Linked DNA regions of Homo sapiens: all the other regions are linked to region 1. Evidence: promoter capture Hi-C in 16 types of primary human blood cells and fetal thymus (Javierre and others, 2016). All regions are on one chromosome and are shown on one strand. Each heading gives the region's core, a stretch centred on a gene start or on the middle of the fragment in contact. The rest is flanking DNA. Distances are from core to core; before and after follow the strand shown.

What was found. The method cuts DNA at HindIII sites, captures the fragments that hold promoters and counts their contacts. A CHiCAGO score of 5 or more calls a contact.
Region 2: the fragment with the promoter of PEDS1 here is called in contact with the fragment with the promoter of PARD6B in region 1 in 8 of 17 cell types (fetal thymus, non-activated CD4 T cells, total B cells and 5 more); the score reaches 11.0 in fetal thymus.
Region 3: a contact is called between the fragment with the promoter of SNAI1 here and the fragment with the promoter of PARD6B in region 1, in 1 of 17 cell types (fetal thymus). The highest score is 6.0, in fetal thymus.
Region 4: a contact is called between the fragment with the promoter of RNF114 here and the fragment with the promoter of PARD6B in region 1, in 13 of 17 cell types (neutrophils, total CD4 T cells, fetal thymus and 10 more). The highest score is 26.9, in neutrophils.
Region 5: the fragment with the promoter of SLC9A8 here is called in contact with the fragment with the promoter of PARD6B in region 1 in 3 of 17 cell types (non-activated CD4 T cells, fetal thymus and naive CD8 T cells); the score reaches 12.1 in non-activated CD4 T cells.

Annotation. Positions count from the first base shown.
Region 1 is chr20:50,729,126-50,734,912 of GRCh38, forward strand. It overlaps PARD6B (par-6 family cell polarity regulator beta), which reads left to right and starts at 2,455. Exons shown (of 3, transcript NM_032521.3): 1 at 2,455-2,727. The coding sequence starts at 2,662. RefSeq lists enhancers at 1-605, 1,558-1,607 and silencers at 1,798-2,007, 2,108-2,897. The HindIII fragment of the contact is 2,238 bases long and covers 1,640-3,877 here.
Region 2 is chr20:50,151,143-50,156,830 of GRCh38, forward strand. It overlaps PEDS1 (plasmanylethanolamine desaturase 1), which reads right to left and starts at 2,581. Exons shown (of 6, transcript NM_199129.4): 1 at 2,375-2,581. The coding sequence starts at 2,495. It overlaps PEDS1-UBE2V1 (PEDS1-UBE2V1 readthrough), which reads right to left and starts at 2,581. Exons shown (of 8, transcript NM_199203.3): 1 at 2,375-2,581. The coding sequence starts at 2,495. RefSeq lists a silencer at 2,335-3,014. The HindIII fragment of the contact is 1,492 bases long and covers 1,262-2,753 here.
Region 3 is chr20:49,980,940-49,986,841 of GRCh38, forward strand. It overlaps SNAI1 (snail family transcriptional repressor 1), which reads left to right and starts at 2,041. Exons shown (of 3, transcript NM_005985.4): 1 at 2,041-2,202; 2 at 2,885-3,412. The coding sequence starts at 2,121. RefSeq lists an enhancer at 446-1,383 and a silencer at 1,536-2,055. The HindIII fragment of the contact is 8,892 bases long and covers 1-5,902 here.
Region 4 is chr20:49,934,494-49,940,151 of GRCh38, forward strand. RNF114 (ring finger protein 114) reads left to right here and starts at 1,904. Exons shown (of 6, transcript NM_018683.4): 1 at 1,904-2,059. The coding sequence starts at 1,920. RefSeq lists silencers at 1,105-1,184, 1,751-1,940, 2,399-2,693, 2,979-3,273, 4,899-5,193 and an enhancer at 1,553-2,158. The HindIII fragment of the contact is 14,536 bases long and covers 1-3,590 here.
Region 5 is chr20:49,809,314-49,814,520 of GRCh38, forward strand. SLC9A8 (solute carrier family 9 member A8) reads left to right here and starts at 3,515. Exons shown (of 16, transcript NM_015266.3): 1 at 3,515-3,635. The coding sequence starts at 3,610. RefSeq lists an enhancer at 3,194-3,333 and a silencer at 3,484-3,763. The HindIII fragment of the contact is 7,464 bases long and covers 2,296-5,207 here.

The DNA.
Region 1 (5,787 bases), core at 1,205-3,704:
CTGGGGAAGGGAGAGAGGATGTGACGACACCTCCAGGAATGCAGGGCCCACGCAGGTGCACTGGCACCCACGAACTTCCTGATAAATCAGTACCGATAACAGGAGTAAAACTCAACCACCCAACACTCACTCACACAGAGCTGGGGTGCTGCTCCCAGGGTGTGGCCTTGCCAATCAGGGAGAGGAGGAGGAGACCTAAGAACGGAGCTCTCTAAAGGTGGTGACATGGTATCTAGTCCAGCCATGATCAGAGTGTGGTCTCTGGGAGTCCCTGAGACCCCTTTACGGGGGTCTCTGCAAGGCCAAAACTGCTTTCACAAAACTAAGATGTCATTTGTTCTCATCATTCCCATTGTCTCACGAGTATACAATGGAGTTTTCCAGAAGGGACAAGACATGTGATGACATCATCACTCTGATGACTGTTGGAATGCATGCTTGTGTACTCCCATGTTTTGGACACATCCGTTTTAATTCTAAGATAAATATTGAAAGACATTACACATAAACAAAGTACTTTGGGGTCCTCCATGATTTTTAATAGTGTAAAGGGGTCTTGAAAACAAAAAGGTTGGGAACTGCTGTGCTAGTCCAAACAGGGGAGTTACAGGCCCTGACATGCACTTTATTTCCGGCTGAACTTGAGTCACCTCCTATGTGCTTTCAAACAGGGGGTGGAGGCAGCTTGCTTATTTATTATACAGCTTGGATTGGTGTCCTTTCCACCTGTGCTGCCACAGGTGGCCAGAAAAACCTTAAATCCTCCCACAAAACGTCTGGTTACCTGAATCCTCCAGAGGGAAAAAAATGAGCTTCTCGCCTTTGAACCCAAGTGGGGCAAAGAGCCTGCAGAAGGGACACCCTCAGTGGCAGCACCCAGCAAAGACCCATCTGAGTACCCGCTGGGAGTCGGGTTCTGTGCCACTCAATGCCAGCAAAGCACAAGCCGTCCCTGCGCCTTCGGGAGCTTTCATTCTAGGCTGGTGGCAGATTACTCACAAAACTCAGATGCACACAAAAATGGGAAACCTGTAACTTGTAACAAGTGCTGGGCAACAGGGGTACAAGTGTTAGGAGGCCTCCGAGGTGGGCAGGGAGATGAGGGGAGGAAGGTACCCTAACCACTCTTCTTGCCAAATCTCAGGTTGGACCTTCCCCTCCACCTCCATTCCCCTGCCCCCTTCCTGGCTTGCAGGTTTCAACAGCTCTTGGATTCCCGGGTCCCACAGGGAGACCTTGGGACCTGGGAATCTCCTCCAGCCAAAAGCTTCAGTCTTCTCCTCTCCTCCCCATGACCCACAGGGTCTGTGTGAAGAGAGGCCGGGCTCTGGGACGTTCAGAGAGGAGGATTCAGCGTTTTGTTGCTCTGGGACACAGCTTGGTCACTCCGGGAAACGAACACAACCTAGAGGCTGTCATTTGTAGAAACAGCGAATGGCCAAGGAATGGCGGGAGGAGGGAAAAGGAAGACTTTTAAAGAAAAAAAAAAAAAGCCCTGAAAGACTGGACTAGAAATCCTCAGGGAGGCTGGGCCTGCAAGGAGCCTTCCCGCGCCTCAGCCCACTTTCCTTCCCTCTCGACCTGACGGACTTAAGGCGTGCAGAGTCTCTTCGGACAAAATGAAGCCAAGAGAGCCCTAAGCTTCTCCCCCAGCAACCGCTGCAGAGGCGGGAAAACTTGAATTTTGCAACCAAGAGTTGCAGCGGGACGCCTAAGCAACGATAAGGGGCGGTGGAGGGGCGTCGTTGGGGGCTGCAGCATCCCAAAGTGGAAGCGGGAAGGGGGCCCGGCTGGAACCGAATAGCCCCGCAGCGCCTCGGCAACCGGACGGGCGGCGCATCCAATCCCCTGGACCGTGCGTGTGACTGGCGCGCGCTAAGCGGCGCGAGCCCCGGCGGAGCCGGGCAACCAGGCGCGCGCTCGCGCGTGCGCAAAAGGCCCACCCAGCCGAGCCCTTCTTCAGGTGCGCTCGCGCTTCCGGCCGGCCTCCCCGCGTGCCTTCCCGGGGCGGAAACTCCAGCACCCGCGCATGCGCCTTCTGGCTCTCCGGCCTGAAGCGGGGCGGAGGGCCATGGCTTCAGGTGATCCCGCCCCTCCCTCGTAGCGCAGGACCAATCGTGCGGTGGTAGGCGGGGTTTTGAGGAGGCAGCCCGCCCACGCACCGCGCGAGGCGTGTATCGATTGGTTGGCGCCGCGGGCGCAGGTGCGCGCTTTCTATTGGGTGTGGGCGGAACGCGAGGGATTGCGGCATCTTCGGGGGCTGCAGGTGAGCGCGCGCACGCGCCGCGGCTGTGGTCCGCTCGGGTGCGCGCGCGCGGGCTCGCGGGGGAGGCGGCAGAGGGAGAGGTTGCGGCGCTTGTGGCCTCCGCTCCGCCCCCTCCTCTCCTCCAGCGCTGTCGCCGTCGCCGCCGGGGCCCGGAGGGAGGGAGCTGCTTCCCCGCCTGCCGCGCCACCAGTCCGACCCTCGGTCCCGCCGTGTGAGCAGCTGGTGGAGTGGAGCTCAGCGCGGACGCCGGAGCTGCGGCCGCCCCCTCTGCAGGTGCCTGTGAGGAGGCGCCCGGGCCGCAACCGCTTTCCGAGATCCCCAGTCGCGCACTCGCTCCCCGCGCTCCTGAGGGGCCGCCCGGCCGGAGGAGGCCGTCGCGGGGCTCGGCGTTCAGCATGAACCGCAGCCACCGGCACGGGGCGGGCAGCGGCTGCCTGGGCACTATGGAGGTGAAGAGCAAGGTGCGCGGGGCCCGGGCTGGGCGGAGCGGCGGGCCTGGGGGGCCGGGGCCTGGGAGAGGCCGGGCCAGGCTCGGAGCGCCGGGGGAGGCGACGGGCTGAGCTGCCCCGGGGTCTGGACGGTGCGGTCGGGAGACTGTGGGTAATAAACTTGCCGAGGAGGGGGTGGCGGGGGTCAGGGGGCGCTAGTGTCCGCCCCTGGCCCGGGCAGGAAGAAGACCTAGTCCAGCATTTAATCTCATTCCGTAAATCTCATTCCCGTGTTCACGGACGGGAGTAGGGGCCAAGGTATATCCAAGGATGGCGCACACTGAGTGAAATGCGAGGCTGCTCAAAAGGTGTAGGAGAATCCTGCCTGCTGGGCTGTGAGTAAAGGGCCCTGGACCACCCCGTTGTTCCCACTTTCTGTGGTTAAGGGGCGCATCGAGTGGCGAAGGAGAGAGCCCAGTGAACTAAACAGCCCTTTAAAAGTTCGCTTTGCTTCCTGCTGGCGCTCTTTCTAGCACTAACTTTGGTATGCATTTAATCTGTAAAATTAGTACTATCACCTTACGTTGGAGTAGCACTTTACAGTTTGACTCTAGATGCTCTTTTCATTCCATCCTGCTACCTACTCACATCAAGTGCTTTTCCCCTTGACCAACGGTATGCCAATCTGCTGATAATTACTTCGGTATTCACTGAATTTCTAAATCTCAAGGCTCAGTGAGCAGGGTAGTCTGTAGGGAGGGATTAGTTAGGGAATGCCTTCCAAAGGGGGTTTTGAGCTGGAATTTGAAGGTGATCGGCAGCCAAGGGAACACTTTCAGCAAGCGTTTCTTGAGTTGAAGAGTTAAAAGGAGCTTAGATAATCTAGCCCAATTCTCTGAGAAGACTGAGGCTTAGAAAGGTTATGACTTCCTCAAGCTGTTTTTTTGCAAAGCCTTCATGCCTTTTTAATAACTTCTAGACATTGCAGAATACAAAACAGGACACTGGCTGGGCCCTGAGAACATTTAAAATAGAATTGAGAAGGCCAAAACACAGAAAAGGAGAAAATTGAAAGTATATCAATTTCAAAAAAAAAAAGTAATGGAGCATCATAGATGGTAAGACTACTAAGGAGTATGTAAAATCAAGGAGTGATTTGAGTGAGGTACAGTGGAGTAAGGAAAGCTTCCTAGAGCCTCTAGGTAGAATAGTTTTATTGTCTAGGGTTGATAAGCAAAGTTCTGTAAGTTTCTGTAACTGAGAATCACATCGAGAAAATCGACATTCGTTTGTAACATCATTAAAAAATGTGATTTGAGTCTGGGCGCGGTGGCTCACGCCTGTAACCCCAGCACTTTGGGAGGCCGAGGCGGGTGGATCACCTGAGGTCAGGAGTGCCAGACCAGCCTGGCCAACATGATGAAACCCCATCTCTACTAAAAATACAAAAAATTTTTAGCCGGCCGTGGTGGCACATGCCTGTAATCCCAGCTACTTGAGAGGCTGAGGCAGGAGAATCGCTTGAATCCGGGAGGTGGAGGTTGCAGTGAGCCAAGTTTGCACCATTGCACTCCAGCCTGGGCAACAAGAGCAAAACTCCATCTCAAAAAACAAAACAAAACAAAAACAAAAACGGCTTGGCACTTACATGAGGATTGGCACTAGTTTCAGAATTAGTAAGAAAAGACGTGTAGTTACAGCAATTTAAGGAATGTGCATGTCCATGTGTCCTCTGTGCACAGCATAGCAAATTGAAGTGACTTGCTTGAGCTATAGCGTTAAGATGACCCAAAATACATAGCAGAACTTTTCCTTTAGCGGTATGGTGGCAGTAGAGGTTCCATGCCCAGTGGTTGAACCTTCTTATGGCATTTTTGTTATAAGTTTAGTTTGGATTTGTGGGAGTTGAGGTTATGGAAAGAAAAACACTTGTGATATTGCATAATCTTAAAATTTTAAGTTTATAGCCCTAATCTTGGTAGCAAGTCTTTAATTTTTTTCCACAGAAAAAAATGAGTAGGAATTCTAAGTATACTGATAAATACAATCAAATAGTAATTTATCTCTAGTACTAAGAAACCTTGAGTGCTTTAAAACTGGAATTTCAGGCTTTTTGCCTTTCTCTTGTCAACTGATTTGTGAATCTTTCACTTACTTCTGTCTAAACTACATGTTGTATATTTGAACTGCCATACTGCACTTTCAGCTAACTGTGTCTTTTAAATAGAATCATACACTGATTCTAGGAACATGTGCTGAATGAAGTCGGTCCCACTATTCTAGCTGTTGACAAATAGGCAAGATATAGGTAGTGAGTGTTTCTAGTATGTCTATGACACCTTATATGTTTCAAATATATATTGCTGATACATTTATTTTCAGTAGATTGAAACATTTGTCACCTTAACCATTTAAAAAATATTTGGAAGGGTTTTTGAAACAGTATTTTCTTTGACATTGCTTTAGTGATACCACAGCTTTTTACAAAACTGATTGCTAAGAGTTTATAACCAAAACTAGGTAGTGTGCCGGTCCTTTTTTTTTTGAGACAGGATCTTGCTCTGTCACCCGGGCTGGAGTACAATGGCACGATCACGGCTCACTGCAGCCTCAACCTCCTGAGCTCAAGCGATTCTCCGATTTCAGCCTCCTGAGTAGCAAGACTACAGGCGTGCACCACTACACCCAGCTTATTTATTTATTTATTTATTTATTTATTTTGTAGAGATGGGGTCTCTCCATGTTGCCCAGTCTGATCTTGAACACCTGAGCTCTAGTGATCCGCCCGTCTCTACCTCTCAAAGTACTGGGACTACAGGCGTGAGCCACTGCACCTAGCTGGTCCATTTTTCTCTTACTATTTTCAATTTTTTTTTATCTTTTTAGAGACAGGGTTTTGCCATGTTGGTCATGTTGGTCTCTAACTCCTGAGCTCAAGTGATATTCCCACCTAGGCCTCCCAAAGTGTTTGGATTATAGGCATTAGCCACCACACTGGGTTCCGGTCCATTTTTAGGATCTCTTTTTCTTCATATAAACAGTAATGTTGGCCAGGCATGGTGGCTCACACCTGTAATCCTAGCACTTTGGGAG
Region 2 (5,688 bases), core at 1,331-3,830, 580 kb before region 1:
GCAGATAGAAGCAGAGAGGCCAGTGGAAAGGAAGTTGGAGAAACCAGTTTGGCAAGTCTCCTCCCCTACCTCCAGGTCTGGAGGAGATAAAGGGCCTTGATTGCAGATTTGGGGCACCAGGCTGTCTGCAGACTCTGATTCAGGCATGGCTGTTCTTCAGAGAGTGAAGGGCACTTGGGGAAACCAGAAATGGACAAATATGCAATTGATCGTGGTGGAGTGGGGAAACAGCAATCCCTGGGGAGGCTCAGAATGCCTGGGAATGATTTGGGCTGTCTGAAAGTAGGTAGGGTTCACAGGAGCAGGCAGAGCTGGACACTAAAGAGGGAGGCCCTTGAATCCTTATCCCCAATTCCCAGGTGGGGAGTTTGAGGACCAGAGAGGTGAGGCGGATCCCCCACAGCAAAGGTCAGACTACTGTTAACAACAGGGAGGCGCCAGGCACAGTGGCTCACGCCTGTAATCCCAGCACTGTGGGAGGCCGAGGTGGGCGGATCACAAGGTCAAGAGATCGAGACCACCCTGGCTAACACAGTGAAACCCCATCTCTACTGAAAATACAGAAAATTAGCCGGGCATGGTGGCGGGCGCCTGTAGTCCCAGCTACTCAGGAGGCTGAGGCAGGAGAATGGCGTGAACCCGGGAGGAGGAGCTTGCAGTGAGCCGAGATCACGCCACTGCACTCCAGCCTGGGCAACAGAGTGAGACTCCATCTCAAAACAAATAAAACAAAACAAAACAAAAAACAACAAAAAAACCCACACAACAACAGGGAGTGCCTACTGAATGCCAGTGGACGATCTCATTTCCACTTCCTAACACGAAGGGGCAGATAAACTTTAACTTGCAAGGAAACCAAGGGGAAACAGAGACGGAAAGTGGCTTGGACCAGGTCATACAGCTGAATAACAGAGTCAGGATGTTAACCCTGGCCTACCCCCAGGAGAGCAGGAGGTTTTAAGTCCATAGGCTGGGTGTCTTGGGTATAGGCCTGAAGAAACCATAGCGGCATGGACCAGGTGCCCAAGTCAGGTGTGAAAAATCACATACAGAGAATGGAGTGGTCTAGGACCCAGTGAGGAAATGCAAATGGTCCGTGGCCATGCCGCCTTTTAAGGAAGAGACGGCATGGAACCCAGGCCAGTGAGGGCAGAAAGCTAAGGTGCTAGTGACCCCAGGCCCACTCCAGGCAAGGGCTGCATGTGGTGCTTGGTGGCTGCCCCACAGAAAAAGGAAGGATGTCAGGATATTTGACAAACAAAGCTTCATTCCATGGTGACACCCAGGTAGAGGTGCCTCCCAGTCACCTGAACCAGGAGTTCTCAAAGGCACTTCCTTAACTCCTGGGGATATAGGGCCCTCCTGAGGCCAAACAGTAAAATTCCTAGGGCTCACGTAGGAGTCACAAAAGTGGGTGTAGGGGGGGTGCTTGCTGGAGCATATACAGTGAGCAAAGCAGGAAGAAGCTAGGGAGAAACCGTGGCCTGAGGGAAAGGGACAGAGAGGGAGAGGTGAACTCCAACTTATGATCTGGTCTGGGGAATATGGGGGTTCCAGTCCCAAGTCCTAAGGAAGGGGCCAATACATGGATGTGAGGGAGGGGCAAGAGCTAGAGTTGGGGCTTATGTACAGGGGAGCTTACAGTGGGGTACATTCAGTCCCCTCACTGCCTGGGATCCAGGAATATGGGGCAAGGACTGATGCTCACCACTGGAGGGTTGGGGAGAGGATATCGGTCTGTAGCCACTGAAGCTATCACTAGGATGGGGTTTTGGGGGAAGGGTGTGGGGGGTACCGTGCAGCTGGAAGCCCCTGAGTTAGGGTTCCCTGGGCAGAGGGGCTGACATTCCCAGGTTAGGGAGGTGAGGTCATTGTTTGCAGCCCAGGGCCTGGGCTAGGGCACAGAGGAGGTACTAGGATGTAGATTCCAGATCTGGGGAACCCAGGATGAGGTGTGACTTTTAGGGGCCTGAGGGCAGTGCTTACAGCTGAAGGGCAGCTTTGGGCTTGGACCGGGTCCTGGGGGGATGAGGGGGTGGGGTTCTAAGTCTAGGAGCACTCTTCACAACCGAGAATGCCCCGGGGCTAGGATTCCGTATCTGCGGGTCCGATGGGAGCTCCGTTTGTCGCCCAGGGAGCTCATGGTAATTTCTTGATCTGGGGAGTGTCTCTGCAGCCAGGAAACCCCGGGGCCAAGGTTCTGGCTTGGGTTCGGAAGGGACACTGGGGTGGGGTCCCCGAACTTGCTATTTGCAAGTTAGACACCCGGGCTGGAGTTCCGCATCTGGGCCCGAGGTTGGGACTCCAGTCTGGGGTCGCTGTCCGCAGCCGGGGCTGGTGACCGCAGGCCTGGAGGGGGGCCCAGAGGTCTTACCTGGCGAGTAGAGCGCAGCCAGCTCGCGGGCCCCGGCGTGCTGCGCGCCCCAGCGGCAACAAGACGCCTCGTCCTCGTCCAGCTCCAGCTGCTGGCCCGGCCAGTTCTCGGCGCCCGCCATGGCCACTCGCCCGATCGGCCCGGTGCGCTCTGCTGGCGGCGGCGGCGGCAGGGCCGCGGAACCGCGGCGAGATCACGCCGCCCAATGACCGCCCAGCGCCGGGCGCGGCGGCGGCGCGGGCGGGGTCCTCGCCCGGCCGCGCGTCACAGCCAATCGGGGCTCGCGCCGGAGCCGCGCAGGCCAATCGGACGTCGCTGAGCCGCAGCCAACCGCCGCGAGCCGGAGGCTGGGACGCAGCTGGACGCAGCTGGGCGCGGAAGCTTGGGGCGGAGGCGCGTGCCCGCCTTCCCAGCTCAGCCCCGGCAGGGCTCCCGGCTCCAGCCCACTGGGAGCTCGCGGCGCGTCGCCGCCCAGCTAGGCTTCGGTTCACGGGCCCATGCAATGGGCCGAGGCAGGGCCCAGAAATGGGCATTTCTTGAGCCGGCAGCGTTAAGCGCCCACTGTGTGCAAGGAACGCGAGGGCAGGGCGCCGGGCTGGGGCCGAGGCCAGGAAGCATTTGGCGGGTGCTCTGTACGATGCTCCCTAGCGAGGCCGATGGAGAGTGGGCTGGTTTATCAAGCCCTACTGTGTGCAGAGGTTTCGGGTGCCATGTGTTCATCAGCTGTGTGCCAGCTCTGTGCTGTGCGCCCAAAGAGGAGAAACGTCGAGCCTGCCCCGCATCCTCCCCAGCTCATGTTCTCCCGGTGGCGAGGACAGTAAACTAATGAAAATGACAACTAGGGTCACTATGAGATTTGCTGAGCGCTTAATATCTGTCAGGTGCTGGACCAAGAGCTAGACGAGCAACATTTATTTGACTCTTAAACACCAATGGTATTGCCTCCTCAGAGAGCCCCACCACCACCACCCTGCTCAAAGGTGCCCCCTCCTCCAGTCACTGTGACATCACCCTGTTTTGTCTTCACAGCGCTTCTGGTGGGGATTGAGCTTGCAGTCCCTGTCTCTCCTATCAGAGAGCAAGCTCCTGAGGGCAGAGAACAGCTTTGTTTACAGCAGGGCCCCCGTGCCAGGATCGGGGCTGGAACATGGTAGAAGCTCAATAAATGCTTGATGAATGAATTAAGGCTCAGCCAGATGCGTCTAATACTTCGGCAGATAAATGACAGCAGCAGGGATTTACCCCAGGTCTAACCGACAACAAAGTATGCAATAATTTCTCATAGAAATTCCATACAGGCAGCCGGGCGCGGTGGCTCACGCCGGTAATCCCAGCACTTTGGGAGGCCAAGGCGGGCGGATCATGAGGTCAGGAGATCGAGACCATCCTGGCTAACACGGTGAAACCCCGTCTCTACTAAAAATACAAAAAATTAGCTGGGCGCGGTGGCGGGCGCCTGTAGTCCCAGCTACTCGGGAGGCTGAGACAGGAGAATGGCGTGAACCCGGGAGGCGGAGCTTGCAGTGAGCCGAGATCGCGCCACTGCACTCCAGCCTGGGCGACAGAGGGAGACTCCGTCTCAAAAAAAAAAAAAAAAAATTCCATACAGGCTGGACGCGGTGGCTCAGGCCTGTAATCCCAGCACTTTGGGAGGCCGAGGCCAGTGGATCACCTAAGGCCAGGAGTTTGAGACCAGCCTGGACAACATGGTAAAACCTTGTCTCTACTAAAAATACAAAAATTAGGCAAGCTACTTATCCCAGATACTTGGAAGGCTGAGGCAGGAGAATCACTTGAACCTGGGAGGTGGAGGTTGCAGTGAGCCGAGATGGCGCCACTGCACTCCAACCTGGGTGACAAGAGTGAGACTTGGTCTCAAAAAAAAAAAAAATCCATACAGTGAGATCACATAGGAGCCTCCCTAGAGGCTGTGGAAGGTCCTGAAAGGTGCTGGGGGAGCAGAGAGGGAAGGTAAGATCCCCTTCCAGAATCCAGGTTCTCTGAGGGTTTAAGTCCTGGATTCCTGCACTACCAGTCACCCCAGGGCTGTTTCCTGAGTGTTCCTACCATAGACAGCCACTGTCCCCACCCAGGCCTATGCTCCCTCCGTTTCTTTCCCACACCTGCTCCCAGGAAGGAAAAGCCACCTTCCAGTGGCAGGGATGGGTTGCAACCCAAGTCCTGGTGAATTCCGGTGAAGCTGGCTGGTTTTGCATCAGTATTAACAGCACAGTTAATCCAACAGTTGGATTTTTTAACCCAGGAGCTTAAGGCTTGGGTGGGGGGCGGCGGACGGGGGGGGGGGGGCGCGGTTGGTGGCTTTGGTGGGGGCTGGATGTCAGATTTCAGGTAAATACCTTCTAAAGCTCTCTGCTCGTATCCCACAGCCTCCAAACAGGGTAGGGTGGCTGGTTACTGCTGCTGTCCAGAGACCCTCACAGTGGCCAGCACCAGATGGTTGATGGACAGACTGCCTGAGATAACTCATTCCTTCATTCATTCACTGAACATGTTTATTAAACACCAACCTGTCCCAGGGAAACAGCAGGGAATGTGACAGAATCCCTGCTTTCTTGGGAGGTGGGGGTGAAGGTTAGGGAAGTCCTGTTTAAGAAGGTGACATTGGATCCAAGACCTAAAGGATATGGGGGAGACAGTTACTTAAAATGAGCTGGGAAGTCCCTTCCCTGTGGGGTTTTGAGTAGAGGAATGACATGATCTGACTTTTTTTTTTTTTTTTTTTTTTTTTTGAGACGGAGTCTCGCTCTGTCGCCCAGGCCGGACTGCGGACTGCAGTGGCGCAATCTCGGCTCACTGCAAGCTCCGCTTCCCGGGTTCACGCCATTCTCCTGCCTCAGCCTCCCGAGTAGCTGGGACTACAGGCGCCCGCCACCGCGCCCGGCTAATTTTTTGTATTTTTAGTAGAGACGGGGTTTCACCTTGTTAGCCAGGATGGTCTCGATCTCCTGACCTCATGATCCACCCGCCTCGGCCTCCCAAAGTGCTGGGATTACAGGCGTGAGCCACCGCGCCCGGCCGACTTTTTTTTTTTTTTGAGACGGAGTCTCACTCTGTCGCCAGGCTGGAGTGCAGTGGCACAATCTCGTCTCACTGCAACCTCTGCCCCCCGGGTTCAAGCGATCCTCCTGCCTCAGCATCCTGAGTAGCTGGGACTACAGGCACGCGCCACCACACCCAGCTAATTTTTGTATTTTTAGTAGAGACCGGGTTTCACCGTGTTGGCCAGGATGGTCTCGGTCTCTTGACCTCGTGATCTGCCCACCTCAGCCTTCCAAAGTGCTGGGATTACAGGC
Region 3 (5,902 bases), core at 791-3,290, 750 kb before region 1:
TCCAAAGTGACTATGCCCACCGACCCTCTCGCCAGCTCTCACCTCCTCATCAACTCTTGATAGTGACCAAATTTTTCCTTGTTGTCCTTCTGATGGGCGTGAAATGGCAGCTCACTGTGGCTTGAATTTGCCATTTCTCTCTTCACTAAACGAGGCTGAGCAGTTAGTGAAGTTGCTGCTGAAACAAAGAATGAAAGGAAGCCAGCGTGAAGATCTAGGAGCAAGAGACGTAGGGGAGAGGAGGAAGAGCAGCAGGTGCCAAGGTGGGAAAGGTCTGGGATGTTGGAGGAACAGAAGGAAGGCTGGGGGTGGGATCCTTGTGCATGGGGGAGGGAGAGAGGCTCAAGCCAATGTCAGCTGGGGTCAGAGCAGCGGGGCCGAGTTGGCTGAGGAGAGGACTTTGGCTTTTACTCTGAGACAGGCGCATGGGAGGGTTTGAGCAGAGGAGGGGGTGATCTGGCCTCACTTTGGCTTCAAGCAAAGGATCCTGATTGGAGCTAAATTGACACGGGACGGGGAGTATTCCGCTTAATGACTGCTTACTGCCTCTGTCCCCCACCCTACTGCCCGCTCTCCAGCTAGAACCAGGGGAGGACGATTTTGTTCACGGCTGTCACACCCGGCACCAAGTGACTAAACAGACAGTAGTTCTGCCCTTCAGGTTGGTGGTGGTGGTGGTGTGGGGTGCTTATAGGTTTTTATAGTCTTCCTTCACAGGTGGAAACAAGAACGGTGAGACCTGTGAGGTTTATTTCAGAGCCACCCCCGGGCCTGGTACGCCTCCCAGGGAAGCTGGGGTGGGGGTGCAGCTGCCCCTCACTTGGGCCCACCCCACATGCATTCAGTCAGGGCCCCTATGGAGCCGTGTTACAGCCTTTAGACACAGGATCGAGGATCTTCACGGGGTGAGGAGACACGCCCGGCCCATGCCTTCTTTCTCCCGCCAGCCTACAGGGATCTTTTTCAACGAAACTCTAACCAGGTCCCTCCTCAGCTGAAAATCCTTCGGTGGCTCCCCAGTGCCCTTGAGGCAAAGTCCAAACTCCTACGAGGCCCTGGGGCCCAGCACATCTGACCCCTCCGGGCATGCCCATCCCACCCCATCCCTGGAAGCTGCTCTCTAGGAGTTACTCTGAAGCAGTTGCCACTTCTTCCCTCGGGCCTTTTCCCTTGATAATTCTTCACTTCCTCTGGGAAGTCACCCCGACCCCCTGTCAGGTGACCCGCCTCTTAACGGTCGCCGCGTCCCGTCTCTCCCCCACCAAAGCACACTTCCCTTTGCATTGTAATTATCTGTTTACTTCGTCTGTCTCCCTCACTGGACCAGAAGCTACCCTTCGGGAGAGGCTCTGAGTGTTCTGTCCGGGGCTGTGCCCTGGCCCCAGGTACAGTGCCCCACACGTGCTGGGCGCTCCGTAAACACTGGATAAGGGAAGGAACGGGTGCTCTTGGCTAGCTGGGCCAGGCTGCTTTGCAAAAAGGCCGTGGCATTTCAAGCCGCCGAGAGCCACGTGCGGTGTCCCTTTCCTCGCTTCCTCCCCAGTGATGTGCGTTTCCCTCGTCAATGCCACGCTCTCCAGGCGCCAGCCGGGCGGAGGAAATTTCCGCCCCCTCCCAAGCCCGAGGCGGGGGCGGGCGTCGGAAGGTCAGGTGTCCCGGCCGGCGCGCAGCGCCAGGGGGCGTCAGAAGCGCTCAGACCACCGGGCGCTGAGCCGGTGGGCGCGCGGCGTCCTGCCGGGGTCCCACCTCGCAGAGGCCTCGCTTCGCTCGACGTCCCGCCCCGGACAGCCCCAGCACCGGGGACGACCCGCGCTGCGCCAGCGAACCCCGCCTCGGAGGAGTCCCCGCCCGGGCTCTCACCGCCACGCGGCGCGAGCCCGGCCAGCAGCCGGCGCACCTGCTCGGGGAGTGGCCTTCGGCGGAGACGAGCCTCCGATTGGCGCGGAGGTGACAAAGGGGCGTGGCAGATAAGGCCCCGCCCCTCCCACCCCCCACCACCCCCCCGGAGTACTTAAGGGAGTTGGCGGCGCTGCTGCATTCATTGCGCCGCGGCACGGCCTAGCGAGTGGTTCTTCTGCGCTACTGCTGCGCGAATCGGCGACCCCAGTGCCTCGACCACTATGCCGCGCTCTTTCCTCGTCAGGAAGCCCTCCGACCCCAATCGGAAGCCTAACTACAGCGAGCTGCAGGACTCTAATCCAGGTGCGTTGGAGGGGTTCTGGGCTCCAGGAGGTTTGGGGGAGACAGGCGAAGGCTGCGTGGGGGGCACCTGAGGGAGGCGGCCTGCCTGAGCCAGGATCGAGTCACAGGATGTTTTGTGGACCATTGCGGGCTCGGGAGACCGGGCAAGTGGGTCCCCAGTTCCGGGGATCTGTCTGGGTGGTTGGGGGAGTGCCGTGTAGAGGGCAGGGGTCTTCAGCTTGGGGGGCCTTTGTAGCCGGCGAGAGGCGGAGGAGCTCCGCAAGAGGGGAAGGAGAGGAGGCCTGTGTCAGGAGGGCCCTCTGGACGCTGCTGGGGAGAGTCCGGAGTCCAGAGGGTTGAGGGGAGGGGTGGGGAGACGAGATGTGTGTGAGGAGGGGGATTGGGGCAGGGTGGTGGCTCCGGGGCTGGGATGATGGGGTTCTGGCCTCAGGCTGGAGACTGGGGACTTAGGAGAGGGAGATCAGGAAATGACCTCCTTCAACTGGGGGTCCTACGTGTGAGAGACTCAGATTGGGTGACCTGGGCGAGGAGGGCAGGAACCTGGTCTGTCCTGTGGATAATTTTTTTGATCTAATTATGTATTGAGAATCGGCCCCACCCAGCCCCTGGCCAGCGGTGGGCTCATGTTTGTTGATTGAGTGAATGATTTAATTAACGCCTGACTCTGCTTTTTCTCCCTCAGAGTTTACCTTCCAGCAGCCCTACGACCAGGCCCACCTGCTGGCAGCCATCCCACCTCCGGAGATCCTCAACCCCACCGCCTCGCTGCCAATGCTCATCTGGGACTCTGTCCTGGCGCCCCAAGCCCAGCCAATTGCCTGGGCCTCCCTTCGGCTCCAGGAGAGTCCCAGGGTGGCAGAGCTGACCTCCCTGTCAGATGAGGACAGTGGGAAAGGCTCCCAGCCCCCCAGCCCACCCTCACCGGCTCCTTCGTCCTTCTCCTCTACTTCAGTCTCTTCCTTGGAGGCCGAGGCCTATGCTGCCTTCCCAGGCTTGGGCCAAGTGCCCAAGCAGCTGGCCCAGCTCTCTGAGGCCAAGGATCTCCAGGCTCGAAAGGCCTTCAACTGCAAATACTGCAACAAGGAATACCTCAGCCTGGGTGCCCTCAAGATGCACATCCGAAGCCACACGCTGCCCTGCGTCTGCGGAACCTGCGGGAAGGCCTTCTCTAGGCCCTGGCTGCTACAAGGCCATGTCCGGACCCACACTGGTACGTGCCCCTCCAGGCGCCCCCACCGTTGCTCTCTCTGGCAGCTTTTGTGAATCTGGGCTTGCTGTTCTCATTCCCAAAGCTGTGGACACTGAGGCCCCGAGTCTTCTAACTTCTAGCTCAAGTTCCAGGGCCTGGCTCTCTGGAAACGTTTGGCAGAAACTTTCTTCATCAGCTAAGCAGATGGGCAAAGCAGACACCTTCCCAATCCCCTGCAGCCTGTTTCTCAGCCAAATGGGTCGGAGCTGGATATGGGAAAGGTGCAACCAACACCTTGCTGTGGGGGCCAGGTGTGAAGGGGCCCACCCGGCCACACCCTCTCCCGGGTCCGCCCCCTCCCTAGCCAGACAGGATGTTGTCAGACCCCCCGCCTGGCTCTGAATCCTTCTTTGAGAACTTTCTCAAAACTTAGGCTGATGTTTCTCTTCTGTGAGCCTCATTTTCTCTATCTTTCAGATGGGCATGAGAACAGCTTTTGGGGTTTCTATACAGGCTAAATGCAGGAATGCATATGGGAAGCACCTGGCAAAGTGCCGGTACCTGCTAAACTCTCACAAAAATGGTTCCTTGGCATTTGCTCTGCTTCCTTGCTGTGTGACTTTGGGCAAGCAACTTAACCTCTCTGAGCCTTAGGGGAAAACTATGATAGCATATGTTTTAGAGAGTGGCTGTAAAGGTGGCTAATCACTTTATAGTAATTTATTATACCCGAACGGTTCTCAGGTCGGCTTCCCCACCCCCACTGAATCCTAGCACACAGACCAGGAAACGGCATCTTTGGGGCAGAAAACACAATCACGTCTTTTGAAAATTTACTAAATGTGTAAAAAACTTTCTGGACATGGAGAAAAGGTAGAACTTTTTAGAACTTGAATGGTGGCAGCCACTGTGCCTGGAGCTGCTCTTTGGAGAGTGACAGTTGAGGGAGAAGATTCCACAGGGTTCAAGCTGGCCAGGTTCTGCCATTTCCTGGCCTGGCGCCTGACCTCTGAGCGGTGAGGGTTAGTGAGGTGTCTGGGAGGACTGGCAATTCGCGGGCTTTATTGGCATCTTATTCGACTAAGGCTACCCATTTCTCTTCCTTCGTGCACCAATTGCTCTGATTTTAACATGTAAAGGTCCAACTGCCTGGCCTCCTGGGTGCCTGCCCAGCTCACAGGGCTCTATTTTGGGACAGTTGAACCCCTCAGGGTGCTGCAGTCCTGCCTGCCTCTCTCACCTCCCATCTGGACATTATTTTAATGTAAAGGCATGGCTGAGACACAGAAATCCCCTTGAAATGTATCATTGCGGTCCTCATTGACTCCCATTGTGTGCCTTAATGGTGGGCCCAGTGGGTGGGGGCTGGGAGGGGTGGAGCAGGTGCATGGGGCAGCGGTGCCCAGCACCTGTTCCAGTCACAGCTGCTGGCCCACTGCATGGCAGGCCCCTTTAATCCGGGGATATCGCATGTACAGTGCCCCCCTCGGCGCCCTTTGTCCCCGCCGGCCTGGTGCCGATTTCACACTTGCCAGGAGTACCATGAAGGCGTCTGGGGGGCGAGGGATCCAAGGAGTGGGGGTCTGTGCCTCCTGCGTGTGCACACAGCCCCCGCCCCCAGCCCATCATGTCCTAGAATGTCTCCTTCCCCTTTTGTTTGGGTTCAGGTCTCATCACACTTTGGGCACTTACTGTACAGGAGGGTAGTGCTCAGGACTTCACCAACAGCCCTGGGAAGGGAAGGGAGGTGCTGTCCTAACTCTGGTCTTACAAATGGACTCCAGCCCCTTTTCCAGATCTCCAGAGTCAGCCCTTAGTTCACAAGGGTGAACTTACCCTTCTCATTCACATGAAGACTTAGAATGCAATCAACAAACCCTTCAGGCGTGGCGTGTGGAGGCTGCTGAGTAATGGCAGAGTGGAGTAGTGCTCAGGCACCCCTCCCCCAATCCTCTATGTCCCCCACCCTTTGGAGTGGCGAGTTTCCATTTCTGCCCCATGAGACTGAGTCCAGCTCTCAGGCGCTCCATAAGTCCCTATTGAATGCATGGGTCCCATTGGAGCCATCCTCTGGACTCTCTCCTACCCTGGTAGCTCAGTGTGGCACCCTAGGCACCCAGGAGGTGATGGAATGAATTCACTCTCAGCTCTTAAATTCCATCCAGCGCTGGGATTTCACAGGCGGGCCCTGACCTTGCGGGCATATCAGACTGGGCGTGAGGGGATTGGAGAATTGCATGTTTTTTAAAAAGACTATTCAGTATTATGGAATAGTGTCTAGCACTTAGTAGGAGCTCAGTAGATTAAAAAAAAAATTATAGACAGGGTCTTGCTTTATCGCCTAGGCTTGTCTCAAACTCCTGGCTTCAAGCAATCCTGCCTCACTCGGCCTCCCAGAGTGATGGGATTACAAGCGTGAGCCACCACACCCAGCCTCAATAGATTTTTGTTTAATGGGTTACTGTTATGACCTTTTATTTGGAAAATGCTGCATCCCCCAGAAAAAAACAA
Region 4 (5,658 bases), core at 654-3,153, 800 kb before region 1:
GAAATTAGAAAATACTCAGAAACAGGCCAGGCTGGGTGGCTCACACCTGTAATCCCAGCATTTTGGGAGGCCGAGGTTGGCGGATCACTTGAGGTCAGGCGTTTGAGACCAGCCTGGCCAACATTGTGAAACCCTGTCTCTACTAAAAATACAAAAATTAGCCAGGCGTGGTGGCAGGCACCTGTAATCCCAGCTACTTGGGAGGCTGAGGCAAGGGAATTGCTTGAATCCAGGAGAGGGAGGCTGCAGCGAGCAGAGATTGCACCAATGCACTCCAGCCTGGGCGACAGAGTGAGACTCCATCTCAAAATAAATAAATTAATTAAATAAATAGAGAAAATATTGAGAAACAAATGAAAACAAAAACACAGCATGCCAAAATTTACTGGACACAGTGAAAGCAGTGCTCAGGGGAAATTTTATAGCTATAAGTGCTTCAAAATCATAGACAGAAAATTGCCAGGGCCTGGGGGTATGGGGATGGGAGGAGGGAAGAGGAAGTTATTGTTTAATGGGGACAGAATTTCAGTTTCAGTTTAGCAAGAAGACCAGAATTTTAGAGATAGCTGATGGTGATGATTGCACAATATGAAATGAATGTACTTTGTTGTTGGGGTTTTTTTGTTTTGTTTTGTTGTTGTTGTTGTTGTTTTTTGAGAGGGAGTCTCGCGCTGTCGCCCAGACTGGAGTGCAGTGGCAAGATCTTGGCTCACTGCAAGCTCCGCCTCCCAGGTTCAAGCCATTCTCCTGCCTCAGCCTCCCGAGTAGCTGGGACTACAGGCGCCCGCCACCACGCCCGGCTAATTTTTTGTATTTTTAGTAGAGACAGGGTTTCACCGTGTTAGCCAGGTTGTGTTTTTGTTTTTTTTTTTTTTTTTCAGACGGAGTTTCGTTCTTGTTGCCCAGGCTGGAGTTTAGTGACTGTTGGAGTGAGTGAGCCATCTTGGCCCACGGCAACCTTCGCCTCCCAGGTCAAAGGCTTTTCCTGCCTCAGCGTCCTGAGTAGCTGAGGCTACAGGCATGGGCAACCACGCCTGGCTAATTTTAGTATTGTTAGTAGAGACGGGGTTTCACCATGTTGGCCAGGCTGCTCTAGTACTCCTAGGCTCAAGCGATCCGCCCACCTCGGCCTCCCAAAGTGCTGAGATTACAGAAGTAAGCCACCTTGCCCAGCTCCTTTGTATAAATAAATGATATTGATTTTCTTCTTGCAGCTCAGGAATTAGATCTGTTATTAGAATTTGCTTAAATTTAAGAAATGGCTGGGTACTGTGGCTCACCGCTGTAATCCCAGCACTTCGGGTTGCCGAGGCAGGCGGATTGCTTGCGTCCAAGAGTTCGAGGCCAGCCTCGGCAACACAGTGAGACCCGCCCGCTCTCTGCACCACTCCTTCCCCCCCTCCTTTCCCCGTCTCTACAAAAAATACAAAAATAAATAAATTAGTCCGGCATGGTGGTGACTGCCTGTGGTCCAGCTACGCAGGAGGCTGAGGTGGGAGGATCGCTTGAACCCCGGTGGTCGAGGCTGCAGGGAGCCATGATCGCGCGCGCCACTGAACACCAGCCTGGGCGACAAAGCAAGACCTTGTCCCAAAATAGATTAAATAAATAAATAAATAAATTTAAGGAAAAAGCAACTTGATTCGAAGATAAATAGTGATAGTGCAAGTGGTGCCGAACTAACGATAAATTTGGAAAACAGCGGCCCACGCGCAGAGCCCGTCCCAATTCTGGCAGCCTTTGGATTTGGCTTCCACGTTTTCCAGATTTCCCTCGGCCTCTAGCTCGCTTGCGTCAGAGGGGCCCCGAGGGGCGGCCCACCCGCTAGCCCCGCCCCCAACCGCTCACCGCCCCGCGAGCCCCGCCCCCTCGGCCTCCTCCTCATCGGCCGCCGTTGCGCGGCGCAGAGCGGCAGCAAGATGGCGGCGCAACAGCGGGACTGCGGGGGTGCTGCGCAGCTGGCGGGGCCGGCGGCGGAGGCTGACCCCCTAGGACGCTTCACGTGTCCCGTGTGCTTAGAGGTGTACGAGAAGCCGGTACAGGTGCCCTGCGGACACGTGTAAGCGGCGAGCCCGGGCCTGGTCGGGGGGCGCTTAACTGGGAAGGGAATGGAGCCGAGGAGCGAGATGGGTCTCAGGGCGGGAGCCAGAGGACCCACCCAGAGGGGCCTCCCGGGGGTGTCCCCCGGGGCTCCTAAGGGCCGTGAAAGCTGCCGGGGCGCTCTTCTGTCCCGCCCCGCTCACTCCTAAGTATCCCGTTCCTCCGCCCGTCTTAGCGGGGCAGCTGCTGTCTGTTGAGCGCCTGCGATGTTCCAGGCGGCCTGTCAGTCTCCTTCCCACACGTGATAGTGGACTCGTGCCCTGCGGGGACTTTAGGCTCCGAAGTCCGCCCTTGGAGAGCCGACGTTTCCTTTCTAGTCCACGTCGCTCTTAAAGCATAGGACATTTGGCGTCGTGTCTAGCTGTGGCGAGTTATTCTACTGTGCACTAAAGTCGGGAGAAACGCTGAACTAGACTAAAACAACAAAAGGGAAGTCTTTATGGGGATCTGGCCAGTTTGCCCTTAGCTGTGAAAGGGGGGTGGGAGTTGGCAGATGGGATTGTTAGCATTCTACTTCCTGTGTAGGAGGTTTGTTTCTTTCAGTTTTCAATTAAGCCTTCATGACCTGAATATTGTGAATAGAGTGGTTATAATGATTAAAGCAGATATGTGTATAAATGTCCAGTCCAGGTCCTGGGCTGTGGCCGGGGCTTTCGAGGTTGGTCAGGTTGGTCGATTTGAATCTAAGCCTTGTTCCATCAGACGCACAAACACATCTGAGTTGAAAGAATTGTAGACAACGTGGCCACCTGCTTCTTGCCTCAGAATTGGCTTTTCCTCTGGCCCCTCTCAGTGCTTATCGTGGGATCACCTTGGCATTGGTCTTGGCAGCGGGCACAGTAGCCATTGCACTCCATGGGCATTATTCTATAGCCACCCTGCAGCGGGGGAGGGTTGGCAGCCATTTTACAGGTGAATACACTGAGGGTCCGAGGCTCTCTTAGGGAAGGGTCACCGTGGCCTAGCTCTTCCCAGATGTACTGCAGGTGACCATTTCAGTAGTCCAGAGAACAGTGCTTGGCACCTAGCTGGCTGCTTTTTGCTTCATCATGTTGCTTTAGGCTATTCATCTTTGCAATTCGGTTAGCCTGGAACTCTTCCCCCCACCCCTCCCTTTTCAGGCTTCAAGTCCCAGGTTAAGTTACCTCACCAAATACCATCCCCATCTAAATTACTTCCCCCACTTCCTTTCTGGGACTTAACTTCCTTCTCCTTGCTTGCACAGAGCAAAACTTAACAGCTCATGACGGAGTGGCCATATCTTTATTGCCCCTGAACTGACTGGAATGGCCTCTGTGTGCCAGATTTTGGGGTAGACTCTGCCTTCAGAGTTTACAGTCCAGTGAATTGATTATAAATAAGTACCAATGACTGGTCAAACTATTGTAAAAATTCATTCTGCAAGTGGGAGGGTATTTCAGGGATCACACCTCTGTGCGTGGGGTGAGTGATCAGGTAATGGTTGAATGAACTAATAAGTCGTGTAAGCAAGCTTCACGAGAGTTGAAGTGGTCTTTAGCTTTTTCATTGAATCCACTTATCCTTGGATCAGATTTACCTGATTTTGGATTAATTCAGTGGATTTCATTTACTATTAACATTTGTAAAAAGGCTAGACCCAGCACAGTTTGCTAAATGAAGAGCAGCAAAATTTGAGATTTTCTTGAGCTTGGTGAACCTTTCCTAGGTCAGAGGGCAAGGAACAGTACTGGTTTTCAAACCTTGGCTCTTCTCTATCCTCGCTGTCCTAGCCCCACGTGATCAGCAGTTCAGTGCAAATTGAAGACAGATGGAAGCACCTCTGTGAGGGCAGCCCAAATCCCCGCTAGCTCCAACCGACTGCTTTCTCCTGTGCCTAGTTGATTTTTACCTTTTGTGCTTGGAAAGTTGAGCATCACTGCAACTCTGGCTGGGGCATTGGATTTTTATAAAACTTTATTTCAAGCCCTGAATGACTGTGTTCTCCAATCTGGTAGAATACAGCTGGAGAAAGGCAGCTGGCTGGGTGCCCAAGAGAAGGGAATTTCTTCCTAGCACTGTGACGGAGTGGAGCATCGGAAGGCTGAACTAGAAAAGGGCGCATAAGTAGGAAATAGAAACTGAAAAGCCATCCCAGGATATTTGAGTTGTTCAAAAGCAGGCTGGTAGTTTGGGCATGTCTCAGGCACAAAGTGACTCGTGAACATTTGATAGATGAGCTGTACCTGTGTGTGTGCTTGAGAAGAGACTTCGAGCTGCTTTTATCTGCATGCTGGGTTTGGTTCCATTATACTCACTGGACCCTCTGTGCTCTCTTGGGTTCCTCTTGTCATCTGCCTTTGTGAACAGGCAACACAAGTGATGGCCACAGGCCCTGCCTGTCTCTACTGCCTCATCACTTGCCCTTCTCACCATGGTCTACCGCATCATGGCCCCCAAGGTCTGCCTGCCTTCCTTTCCAGTCCTCATTTGTGTGTGGCGTGATCTTGGTGTGGAGCTCTGCACCCAGATCTGTGTGGCTGTCCTCGTAATCAGGTCCCACCCAGCTCAAATGCCAACTCCTCAGAAGCAGCTTTCTATGATCACCCCAGCTGGTCTGTTTGCCATATTTCCTTCATATTTTTAATCACTATCTGAAATTAACATTTGTGTTTCCCTTCACTCTAGAATGTAAGCATCATGAGAACAGGGCTTTGTCAAGTTTCCATTGCCCTCAGTGGTGAATGAATAGACTCCCTCACCTTCTCTGTACCTGGTCTGGAATTTTGCCTAACAGCATTAACATCTAACTTAATGACAAGGAGGAAGGAGATTCTTAGAGGCAGTAGAAAATGGTCAAGTGTTCAGAAGATGGCCTTTCATTATATATCTTTAGTTCTTTCTGGCAGATTTGGTTATACTGTCTTAATCTATCAGGTTGGGTAAGTAGCCCAGGGTGTCTTCTCCATTCTTTCTGTATGCCTTATCTCAGCATTACCATCTTCCTAGGCTTCAGGATAGGAACTCGGTCATCTTTGACTTCTTTTCTTCAAAGTCAGTAAGTTATCAAGTCCTCCTGATTCTACCTTTCTGTGAATGGTTTCCTGAATTCATCCCCTGCTGCTTCAGTCAGACCCTCACAATCCTCTGCCTTTAGCCATCTGTTTGGTTTCTACTTTGTCTCTTCTCACCTTCTCACCTAAAAAAAAAAAAAACTATAGGGCTGGGCTCAGTGGCTCACACCTGTAATCCCAGCACTTTGGGAGGCCAAGACGGGTGGATCACCAGAGGTCAGGAGTTCGAGACCAGCCTGGCTAACGTGGTGAAACCCCGTCTCTACTAAAAATATAAAATTAGCTGGGTGTGGTCATGCGCGCCTGTAACCCCAGCCACTTGGGAGTCTGAAGCAGGAGAATCGCTTGGACCGGGGAGGCAGATTTTGCAGTGAGCCGAGATTGCACCATTGCACTTCAGCCTGGGCAACAGAGCACGACTCTGTCTCAAAAAAAAAAAAAAAAAAAAAAGTAACAAAACTTTGTTTTCCATGATAGCACAGAGATATTTTTCTGAAACCTGGATTTGGCCTTGTTTTGTTAATAC
Region 5 (5,207 bases), core at 2,265-4,764, 920 kb before region 1:
TAAAAGCATTAAAGATCAAATTCTTAGCCAGGCACAGTGGCTCATGCCTGTTATCCCAGCACTTTGGGAGGCTGAGGCAGGTGGATCACTTGAGGTCAGGAGTTTGAGACCAGCCTGGCCAATATGGCGAAACCCCGTCTCTACTAAAAATACAAAAATTAGCTGGGCATGGTGGCACACGCCTGTAATTCCAGCTACTTGGGAGGCTGAAGCAGGAATCGCTTGAACCCAGGAGGCAGAGGTTGCAGTAAGCCGAGATCGTGCCACTGCACTCCAGCCTGAGTGACAGAGTGAGACTCCATCTTAAAATACAACAACAGGCCAGGCCTGGTGGCTCATGCCTGTAATCCCAGCACTTGGGGAGGCCAAGGCAGGCGGATCACGAGATCAAGAGATTGAGACCATGCTGGCCAACATGGTGAAACCCTATCTCCACTAAAAATACAAAAATTAGCAGGGCATGGTGGCACATACCTGTAGTCTCAGCTACTTGGGAGGCTGAGGCAGGAGAATTGCTTGAACCTGGGAGGTGCAGGTTGTAATGAGCCGAGATCGTGCCATTGCACTCCAGCCTGGGTGACAGACACTCCATCTCAAAAAAAAAAAAAAAAAAAAATCCAAAGAAGAATGGTATTTCATGACATGTGAAAGTAATGCAAAATTCAAATTTCAGTATCCATAAAGTTTTGTTGGAACACAGCTATGCCTATTTATATTATTTATGCTGCATGCAAACTACAGAGTTGATTTGTTGCTACAGAGATAGTAAGGCCCACAAAGCCTTCAGTATTTACTGTCTGACTCTTTACAGAGACTGGTCAGGGAGGGCTTCCCTGAGGAGGGGACATTTAAGCTGAGACATGAATAACAAGAAGACTGGAGATAGCGGGCAGAGCTGTCTAGGCAGAGACAATGGAGAGCAAAGGCAGTTTTCTCTCTAATCTTGTAACAGTCTTCTAAAGAGAAGCGTTATTAAAGAAAAAAAGAAAAAAAAATTGAGGGGGCCCTGAGGCTCTGAGGGTGCTGTAGCCTCTCAGGGTCACGGAGACTGTAGGTCCTGAGGAGGGGTTGGGAACCAGCACTGTCTGGCACCAGAATTTGTGGTGCCTTATGCTGCCTCCTTCTCGGCCTGACACAGCATTGGAGCCCAGAAACTGCATGTTGAATGGCTTTATTCACCTTCCTCGGGGAAGGACCAGGGATTTTAGATTCATTCTCAGGAATAGGTGAGAAGAGCCAAAGACTCACCCATGGGCATGAGAGAATGTTCTCTGCAGCCTCATGGTTAGTGGTAGGCCCAGAGGAGGCCAAGGGCAGTAGGCAAGACAACGGATAGAGAAGAGTAGTGAATTCCAGCTATGTGGAGTTTCCAGCTTGGCGAATTCCAGCCATGTGGGGTTTATTGGTGCTGGTAGAAAATGGTAGCCTCAAGCCCTCAGTTGACAAGTGTGGCCAGAGAGAACCCCACTCTCAATCCTTTGTAGACCAGGTCATTCCCGCCAGGCTCTGTGCTAACGGAGGAGAGTAGGTTATTAGTCCCATTTAAGAGCCAGAGAAATTAAGGCAGTGGAGAGTAGCAGGGCTACTGGTTTAAAAACACTGGCTCTGTGCCTGAATCCCAGCCTTGTCATTTGCTAGCTGTGGGACCGCAGGCAAGTGCCTTGATTTCTCTATGTCTGTGGATAATGATGGTATCTACCTCAAAGCTATGTAAAGAATTAAGGAAACAATAGCCCAACACCACACCTGCAGGAAGGAAGCAAGTTTATTATTACTCAATAAACATTGGTGGATCCTGATGACATTCTCTCAGTCAGCTTTAGCAGTCTTAAGAGACTGCAGAGGATGGAGAACCCAAGGTTAGAGCCAGATTTCTTCTCTACCCAGTTCCTCGGGGCCAAAACCCTGACACCATGCTTAACTCCTCTTTTATACGCCATAGTCCGTCAGCAAACCTTGTCTTCAGTATGCGTCCAGGAGTCCAACCATTCCTGCCACCTCCACCGTATTACTTTCATCCAGACTGCCATCAGCTGTCACCTAGATTATTGCAAAAGCCTCCTTGCTGGCTTTGGGGCTTCCATCCTCTCTCTCTCGCCAATCCCCAGTCAACTCCCAACAGGCAGCAAAGCTTAGGTTACTTCTCAGTTCAAAACCCTTCTAGGTGTGCTAGAATTAACTGATTTATTTACTCAATGATTATTTATTATTGAGTGTCTACTATGTGCCAGGTACTGTTGTAGGCATTGCAGATAAAATGGAGAACAAAACAGACAAAAATTTCTGCATTCATGAAGCTTCCGTTCTCATGGAGGGAGATGGTTAACAAACAAGTGTATGAGTAAAACATATGGTAGGTTAGGTGTCATGTGGAAAAATAGTTTAGGGAAGGCGGGGGGCCTTGGATTTTAAGTAGGGTGGTCAAGGAGGTCTAACACACAAGATAAGGGTTAAATAAAAGGCCAAACGTAGGAGAGGTGGGAGCCAAAGAGCTACCCAGAAGAAGAGCATTCTAGATAAAGGCTCAGTAAGTGCAACGGTGGAAGTATTCCTGGTGAGTCTGGGACAATAGTGGAAAGTCAAAGTGTGTGGGAGGGGAGATATAGAGCCCCATGCCCCCCTCCCACACACTTCAGAGGGGAAAAGGGGGCAGGATTGAGTCCTGTACATTCCCCACGTTTTTTTTTTCTCTGGAGATTGGAAGCCATTGGAGGGTCTAAGCAGAGGAGTGATGAGTTAAGCTGCTGTGTGGAAGTCCGTAAGGAACAGGGGTGAGTCAGAGACCCTGAATGGAGCCGTTGCAATTATCCAGATGAGATAGAGTGCCTTGGATCAGGAAGGGAGGTAGCAACAGAAGCGGCCAATAAAGTTCAAAGTCCTCAGCCCCAGTCCTCCCGATGGGGGTCTCACCTACCCCTCTCACCTCACCTTGTTCCTCCCTGCATCCCCACCCCACCGGTCACTGCTAGGCACATAGAAGCATCTACTAAGCATGTGGTGAATCAATGAACCCCTTAATGAATGGTCCACCCCTAGATCATCAGCATCCTTTTTAACGCTAGGCATATAGTCTGAACTCAACACATGTTTACAGATGGAATGCTGCACAGTCCTGCCAAGTCCAGGCGGTTATTCCTCTCCACAGCCGAAGGAAACTAAGGCTCGGGTGGGGAAGTGTCCCCCTGGGGTCTCTCCGCTTAGGCTGCAGGCTGGGCATCCTTTTTCAAACTCTTTTAGCACAGCGAAGTCGAGGGCACTGGGTGGAGGGTGCTTGCTTGCCCTCAGGGTGAGTCACAGTGACCTCAGAGGAGTTTCCCCAAAACGTCCCCGCCCTGTGATGGGGAAAAGCCGGAATCTCTCGGTCCCAGGTGGTCATGTGGCCCAGGCCGGACAAGCGTCCCGAAAGCCCCGGGAGAGACTAAGAAGCAATCCTCCCACGCGCTTTCTCCCACCCTCGGGCCACTGAGACGGAGGGACAGAGGGCCGCCCTCGCGCGGCCGAGGCCCCGCCTCCCGCTCGCCCGCCCGCGCCTCCAGCGGAAGCCGGAAGCAAAAGCGGGTCCTGCTAGCCCCGCGGCTCCGAACTCGGTGGTCCTGGAAGCTCCGCAGGATGGGGGAGAAGATGGCGGAAGAGGAGTGAGTGGGCTTTTTCCCGGGCGGCGGAGGCGGCGGGGCTGGGCCCCGGCGGGTGACAGCGAGCGCCTCAGGCCGCCCTCCGGCCCCGGAAGGCGGAGCTTCTTTTGCTGGTTGGCCAGGACTGACCAAGCCGGTGCCTACGAGGAGGGCGGGATGGGCGGGCCTGGGCCCAGGTGGGCCTTGCTTTCCCCTGGAGATCGGTCCCTCGAGCTGGGAATCTACTGCCCAGCGCAGGCCCGGAGAGCTGTCTTGCGGAAAATACAAACCATATTTACTTTCCCAGTTTTCGGTAATCTCATGGTTACTGAGCCCTCTTCCGCCTCCTCCAGGAAGTCGTCCGGGTTCTCCACACCCACCTCCTACGTAGCCAGTCGCCTCCTGTATAACGATCAGTTTTCATGTCTTTCTCCTTCACTAAGTTTCATTTAGTCATTAACTGTTAGCCATCTACTCAATTCCAGGCCCTGGGCAGGTGGTAGGAAAGGAGGCCGACCAGGAGCCGCTCTCTGGGAGCTTCCATTCTAGTGGGAAAAGAAGACCATAATTAGTCAAGGTGGTTTCAGATCGTGATTAATTAACGTTATTTGTGCCTAGTGTTCCATTATTGGAACGCTAAGCATGTGGGAGTTATTTATATCCTACTGCTCAAGGTCATCGCCAAGGTCTGATTTTTCTCACGTCTGCAGTTCTAAAAATTGCAACCTCTGGCATGAATGGGTTAAGTGTTCTGAAGGAAGCAAAATAGAGTTAAGGTTGGGGAGTCCACTCAGGAAAAAGTGACATTCAGCAGAAACTTGAATGACCAGAATGAGGGATAGGAGAAATAACATCAGGTTCAAAAGGCCTGGCTCAAGAAAGAGTTTAGTGCTTTTGAGTGACAGGCAGCATGGCTGGTGTGTAGAGAGGAAGGGGGTTAGCTGGACAAGGGGAGATGGGGAAGGACGGGCTGTGTCCTCCAGGTACTTTTGGGCAAGTCCAAAAGTCATCTCCATACCTGCAGGGCAGAGTCTGTTGCAGATTGTAGATGCCCTATCACTGTTTGTGGAATGAGTATGTGAAGATGAATAAGGAACCCCTTCATTGATACTGGAGTCCTTCACCTGATAACTTTTCAAATATATTTCTTGGCCATGTGGGGGTCATTTCATGTAATCAGTTATTTATTGAGCAGCTGCTCCATCCCAGACACTAAACAGCCTCAGCAGCACAAAATAAAAGAGGCAATATAGCCCAGCGATTTCAAGTTTGGGTTTTCAGCTTGATTCTGCCACTAACTGAGATGTTGGTGAAGTTTTGCAACCTCCCTGAGCCTTAGTTATGCATGAGTAAAAAACGGAAAGTAATCATACCCAATCAGACATGTTATACCTATTAAATGAGAGGTAGTGTGTTACCTAGTTCCTGGAATAAAGCAGTGCTCAGAAAATAATAACTTTTGTAGTCACAGTAACAGTTATTATAGCAATATTGTACTAGTTCACAATCCCAGCACAGTGTGAAAGAGCTGTGGGAACATACGCAGTGGAGTGGGTAAATTCGGGTGTGGTAAGATGGGGTAATAGGAGGTGACAT